Regions from separate parts of the Homo sapiens genome. Here region 1 is linked to region 2. The links are contacts of gene promoters, found by promoter capture Hi-C in human tissues and cell types (Jung and others, 2019). All regions are on one chromosome and are shown on one strand. The core of a region is centred on a gene start or on the middle of the fragment in contact, and the rest is flanking DNA. Distances in the headings are between cores, read along the strand shown. Region 1 overlaps MYO16 (myosin XVI). Region 2 holds the start of RAB20 (RAB20, member RAS oncogene family).

Region 1 (3,312 bases), core at 455-2,954, 1.4 Mb after region 2:
CTGTCCCCACTCCTTGCTTTAGTTTTCTACACAGTCCTTCTCACTGCATGGCACAGAACAGCCCAATTGTTTGTTTTGTGTCTCCTTCCTCTGGAATGTGGGCAAATACAATGTGCGTTGTATTTTCAGTGCCTAGAATAGAGCCCGGCTCACAGATGGCACTCAATTAATATTTGTTGAAAAAGAAAAAAGATGAATGAACAATAAATTAGTTTTAATAATGTTGCTATAGAAATTCTCTTTCTGAAAGGAGCTACACTTTCCATACCTGTAAAATAGCTTGCACATTTACTAAATGAAAATTTTATGCAAATAAGTACAGTAAAGCCACGCACCACAATGATCATTTTTCCCCATTCACACAAGATTGACAACTTACGGAAGCACTTTCAGTGTTAATCCACCTTTGAGTGCTGATCTTTACTTATTTAAAATTATAAGATAAGGAAAATATCTCATTGCATGAGGTGAATATTTTCTTTTATGCAATGGAGTGGAGCTGTTTGTTTTCTACCTAAGCTTGTTAACTTATGAGAGAAAGGACCTATGGTTGTTTGAAACTGATTCCTGACCCATGGTTTGAGAATTCAAAGACACAAGGTCCATACATAGTTTTTTAAAATTGTACTTTACATTGCTTTACAATCTGTAATATCAGGAGATAAAAATCAATTTGATGAATGTTGGCATGCTTTGGCTGTGCTGAGTGTGACTCTGGAATCCTGGTGACTGGAGTGGGCACAGTGGGTTGACCCGTAGTTACGTGAAGGGGCTTCCATGCACCCCTATCTTCCCCAGGCCTCTTCCAAGGCCGAGGGAGGGACTCAAGCAATGTACAAACAGTTAACATTTGTAATACTTTGTAAACGTATACTTTGATTTATTTTCTCATTTTGAATAAATGTCCACTTAACTCTCTAAATGTTCATTTTTCATCTTTATTATTATTTTTTTAAAAAAGCTCACCTTTCCCCAATTGCATATGCTTCAATCTCTGGACAAAAACCAAAATGGGTCTCAGGCATAGAGCCTCTAGCCATAATCTACATGATGAAATCTTTACCTTTGAGTAATTCACAGGCGGGAGGAGAAATAGGTGTGAGGTCACTGGATGAGACTACAAAGGCAACGTCACCTCCGGCTCACCTTGGAAATGTTTTATGGGAAAAGTCCAACTCCTCAGACAGTAACAAGACTGTTTTATAAGTTTGCCATGACAGGAGAGGTATGAATAAGTTAACATCAGGGATGTGTCTGGGAGAGGAGACACAGGAAGGATTTTGTGGAGGGAGGGGGAGGTAGGATGGAAGGCGAGAAGAGGAACTTCTCTTAAGGAAGAATGCAAAAACTCTGCAAGAGTGGAGAGACGTTTCTTAGTGGGGAGAGAGAAATGTCCTTGAATAATTCTGGGAGAGCTGGAGAAAGACAGGGAGCATAATGGGAGTTAAGATGAGTCCTTGCTCCAAACCAAGAGTGACAAGAAACCTGGCAGAACGGACAGCACGTGGTTCAGCCCTGGGAAGGCAAAGAGATGCCCTGGAGCGCAGTGGCCACTCTGGGGAACATGAGAGCTGAATGAAGAAGAAAGGAAGAGGGGTGGACCATGAGCAAACTATATTCCTCCCCCAAGCTAGGGAGCTCTCCACTGATTCAACAGGTATTCACGTCCTACAAGGTCCAAACCTGGTGCTAAGATTTACTTTAGAACTTAAAGAAATATTCGTCCGAAAGAAACAATCCATTGAGTGCTCACATTTTAGAGGGGTTATGGAGCACGGCAGATGACAAGAATTTATGACGACCGGGTAAGTGCAAGAAGAAAAGGGACTACATCTATCCTGAGGGGTATAGAAGAATGAAGAATCTGACGCATCACTGTGGGACTCGCATCCTGCTCAGCTGAGCTAATTTTGACGGTTTTATTCACTTGTTAAAGCCTTTGACACTTATAATGCCAACCCATGTGACAGGGACATCCAGGGTGCATTCTAAGGGGTGCTTTTCCCCAGGCTTCTCTGTGGTGACTCAGCTCTAAGGGGGACTGTCTTCAAGGTGCCTTCAAGGCATGTGTTAAGGTTGCAAAGGGCCAGGGGGCTGGGATGGGAGCTCTGCAAAATGCTCTAGGAATTCTTAGGAGAGGTCAGAGTGGGCTGGAGCAGCCAGGTGAGCCTTTGTTGTGTAGGCAGGAGGAAGAAGCAGTGGATTTTGAGTTGAGGACGGAATGTGGAGAGGGGGAGGGAAAAGGAAGGGAATGCCGCAGAGGCAGAGCTGACTGCACTCGTGAGGGAGGGGAGGCTGGCTCTGCCCACACCTCCGCACCGGGAAGTGGGAGCAGAGAGCTTTGGAGTCTATGAGCATCACAGGACTGGGTTCCAGCAAGTATTTTGAGCAAGGGCATGCTGTGAAGAATAAGGTTTTTTTTTTTTTTTTTTTTTTTTTTTGTAAATACTAATCTAGCAAAGAAAGTATACAGCTGAATGGACCTTGAGGAGAGATTAGAAGTAGAAAGAGAGTCAGGGGAGAGGCTGGGGAAGCAGAAGGAGGAGTGGAAAGGCAGGAGGAAGCTGAGTTCAATCCCACTGAGCGGGAGAACTGGGACCTGATGGGGACCACAGCTGGGGCGTGGTTCAGAGCAGCAGCTCCCACCTGAAGAGCAGGGTGCATCTGGGGTTGTACTTGTTGACTTTGAAGTGACAGCCGCAGGCCTGAGGATTAAATTGAGTGGCAATTTTTTGAAGAAGAGAATTTATTAGGACTGGAAAGGAAACAGCTAGGAGAGACTTAAAAATCTCTCAGGAAGGAGAAATTTTCAAGGAAGAGACACTCTCGAGTGTGAGGAGGTAGCAGGAGGGGACGCCCAGGTGACTGCCGTGCAGGAGGGCAGATGTGGGCGTGCAGGAGGGCAGATGTGGGCTTGCAGGAGGGGCTGCAGGCCAGGAGCCTTGGCAGAGGGCAGGACTGTGTGGCACGCAGGGCGGCTGACAGCGTCAGTGCTGGGGAAAGGCCAGGAAGCAGGGGAGAGAAAGGAGCCATGGAATGTTTCCCCAACAAGATGCTGAAAACACCACTTTTCTCTTAGGTACCTGCGCTAGAGATCAGATTAGAGTGTATTTTAGAATCCTATGAGATGGGATCCGGGTTTCAGTAACGCAGGAGAAAAACAAACTATAGCTGTTTGGCTGACTTAATACTGAGAGTGCTATGTAAGGCATAAAAAATGTGAAAATACATTTTAAACTCATTACTCATACTGGCTATAACTCATTCTGAAACTCTATAGGAAAATTCCTCTTCAGAAAGGCTATTGCATGA
Region 2 (3,392 bases), core at 1-2,500:
ACCTGACATGCCAGGGCTGAGCAGGTACGAAATACCTTGGCATTCCTGCCTTGTCGGAGTCTCAGGGCACCTACGAAGGAGGCAACGGGCCTATTTCCCTTTACAGGACACCTTCAGGACACGGGTTTTAACCTGCTCAGGGTCTCATCGCCTTTCCCAGCCAGGCCAGCGGCCAGAGTGACACTGTCCCCCAGGGTTTAACTTAGAGTCCATTCTACCTCTCATTTTCTCTAAAAAACCCCAACCAACCAACTAACCAAATTCTACACGCTGCATATTTTAAAAGCATTTCAAGGTTTATCCTTTAAAACGGAAGGAGGACCTGGGAGGCCGAAGCGGGTGGATCACGAGGTCAGGAGTTCGAGACCAGCCTGGCCAACATGGTGAAACCCCGTGTCTACTAAAAATACAAAAATTAGCCGGGCATGGTGGCACATACCTGTAATCCCGCCTACTCGGGAGGCTGAGGCAGGAGAATCGCTTGAAACCGGAAGGCGGAGGTTGCAGTGAGCCGAGATCGCGCACTGCTCTCCAGCTTGGGCAACAACAGCAAAACTCCGTGTCAAAAATAAAAAAAAAAAAAAAAAAAGAAGGAGGAAATATTTCTCAAGTAGCGACTGCAACTTCCATAGTCAAATTTTCATTCCAAGCTATAAATGGAGATGACTGTCCACTTTTCAGGACAAAAAGCTTCTTGCAAAAGTAGAAGAGCAAAAGCAAAATCCTCCACTAGAAAGCGCCCCCATCTCTAATCTGTAACAGTGAGAGCCTCAGGACGAGTTCCGCAGACGCTCATTTAAAGCAAACTTTTTCAATGACCTTGAGGGTGGCTGTACTTACACGCGGAGAAGCAAATCGACCGCAGCTGGAAAGGCGCTGGGTCGAGCGTGAGAGGAACACGGGTTTTACCTAAGGGAGAGTGGAAGAGAGAAGGGGGTTCCCCAAGGGCCCCGGCCCCTTCGCCTCGTTCGGGCCCCGCGGCCAAGCTCCTCGCACCGCAGCCCCGGCTGTGCAGAAGCGGAGGGGCGGAAGGTGCTCTCAGAACTTTCATTTTCCACCCTGCAGCAGTCCCGAGCCTCGGCTGGAGAACTCGGATGCTTGCGAAACGGCGAGGTCCAGCAGGGGCGGGACGGGGGCGGTGGGCGGAGGAGGATAGGGCGGGGCCGCGGCGGTGAAAGGGCCCGGGGGCGGGGGCGGGGGCGGGGCGAGGCGAGGCCGCCGCGGTCCGGGCCCCCGACGTGGGCTCCGTGCTCTGCACCCAGCTCCTTCCCGGGCGCGCACACGCGCTTCCTCTCTTGAGCTCCCGGGCGTCCGGAGGCGAAGGTCCCGGAGCGTTCACGAGAATCCGGGTCCCGGCGAGTCCGGGGTCCGCTCCTCCAGCTGCGCCCAGGGCGCACGAGCCGGCCAGCCTCGGGGAGAGGGCGCGGGGGCGCTGGGGGTTCTTACGGGAAGATGAGGAAGCCCGACAGCAAGATCGTGCTCCTGGGGGACATGAACGTGGGGAAGACGTCGCTGCTGCAGCGGTATATGGAGCGGCGCTTCCCGGACACGGTCAGCACGGTGGGCGGCGCCTTCTACCTGAAGCAGTGGCGCTCCTACAACATCTCCATCTGGGACACCGCAGGTGAGGCCGGCGCCGCATGAGCCACACCGCCCTGGGGCTCCGCCGGGGACGGGGGGCGCGGGGCTTCCAGCAGGGCACCCGGCCGCGCACAGGGTCCCGGCCTCGGACAGCAAATGCCTCCTTCTCGGGGTTTCCCACTCGTCCTCCCTTGCTGGTTGGGCTGAGCGCTGCCTCTCAGCCACTCAGTGACCTCAGGGACAACCCAAGTTGCAGAGAACCCGCTGGTCATTTGTGTACCTAAGCTGCCTTTGCTCCCGAGCCCCGCGTTCCTGCTCTGCCGCCCTGGGAACCAGAGACGCTCCTCTGTGGCTGCTTTGTTAGGTATTTTCAGTTTTCACGTACCCGTAGGAACATGATATCCTTTGAGATTCACTTGAGGGGTGAGCAGAGCTGGTGTTATTAGCCCCTTTCTAAGAAAAAGTAAAATGAGGCACAGAGTGTTCCCCCCTGTTGGGTTTAGTCAGGAGAGAGGAAATAAAACTGGAGCCTCCGGACCTCTTAGCCCGGAGCATATCTGCCTTTTACAGTTAATCTTCTGCTTGATCTTGGCTCAGATACGTCATATGGGTTTGGGTTGGAGTGACTTCCGGTGGAAGCATTTTTAAGATAGGTAATGAGTTATTTTTATTGTGTAGTATTTGTGACTTTTCAAAAGTACAACTTAGAGGATCTCAATTCAGGCTTTCTGTTTAACTTTGGAAAATAACACTGGTGATTGTAGCATTGCAATGGAATATATTTCCTTCTCCTTACAAAAGAATAAGATATTGTAAGTGAATGAAGAAACTGGAAATAGTGTGACACATTTTCAATGAGTGTGAGTTTTTAGAAGCCTGAAACTCTGAAAGTTCTGACTTCTTTTATGTTAGCATCTTAAAAAGTCATATACCCAAAGGCCCCGTCCAGAATTCTTAAATTGCCATCTTGGGTGTATCAGTATGCTGAATAAACAAGATGATAATGAATTCTCTCTTTAAAACTGAATTAACGAAGCTCACAGAGGTACTTCCAGTTCTCCCCCTCCCTTTTGCCTTCTTTGATGCTTTTTTATTATTATCCCAGTTAACATCGTGACTAATTTATTGGCAATCATCTTGTGAAAACAATGTCCCCCAGGTAAAGAGGTGCATTTCCCTGATCTTTGCTCCAACTCTGTCTTCTGCCTCAGGCTGCAGGATGAGGTTTACTGAGCTGACTCCCTCACACTGAGCATTTGGTAACGATGGAACACACGCTCTAGAAGTCAAATCGAACCCAATTCACGAACCCAATTTGCTTCTGTACAAAGTCAAATTGAACCCAATTTGGTTTTGTACAAAGCTTTGCCCCTCTGCTGCTTTTGCTGGTTGGCTGGGATTTACTGCTGCCCTTGGTTTACAAGTAGCAAGGTTAATGCAGGAGTGTTATTGGGGGACCCTAACCGAAACCCCTGTAGTGGCCACCGTTGGAGGCAGACTCTTAACACACGGTGTGTTTCTGGAACAAGAGCTGCCCTGCAGTGCTGGAACGGCCCCTGCATCGGAGGGAATGAAGCAGCAGTTTCGTTTCCACTGGCCTCTTGCTTCTTCAGCACCAAGGACGTGATGCAGCCGGAATCCTGATCACCAGAGATTTTGCAGTTGTGCTGATGTGACGCCCCAGATGTCTTGAAGCGTTACTGGGGGGCAGCAGCTCATTTCCTGGCATCCGAGGCTGCTGCTGCTTGTTCGAAAGATCCTAAGGGTGAATTACTAGAGCTCCTCAGAACAGAGAGTGGCCAGGCCCCTTC

The links. The method cuts DNA at HindIII sites, captures the fragments that hold promoters and counts their contacts. A contact is called where the count stands out against the background at its distance.
Region 1: a contact is called between a fragment that was not itself captured here and the fragment with the promoter of RAB20 in region 2, in 1 of the 25 tissues and cell types used here (lymphoblastoid cells).

What each region holds. Positions count from the first base shown.
Region 1 is chr13:109,156,372-109,159,683 of GRCh38, reverse strand. All of the region lies in intron 32 of MYO16 (myosin XVI), which reads right to left. All of the region lies in intron 1 of LOC105370356 (a long non-coding RNA gene), which reads left to right. Among named protein-coding and RNA genes, the nearest start is that of MYO16-AS1, 9.3 kb to the left of the region's middle. RefSeq lists enhancers at 1-335, 2,326-2,875, 2,876-3,312, 2,834-3,312. The HindIII fragment of the contact is 6,045 bases long and covers 1-3,312 here.
Region 2 is chr13:110,559,580-110,562,971 of GRCh38, reverse strand. It overlaps RAB20 (RAB20, member RAS oncogene family), which reads left to right and starts at 1,250. Exons shown (of 2, transcript NM_017817.3): 1 at 1,250-1,624. The coding sequence starts at 1,453. RefSeq lists silencers at 1,121-1,570, 1,462-1,651, 1,631-1,690. The HindIII fragment of the contact is 6,225 bases long and covers 1-3,392 here.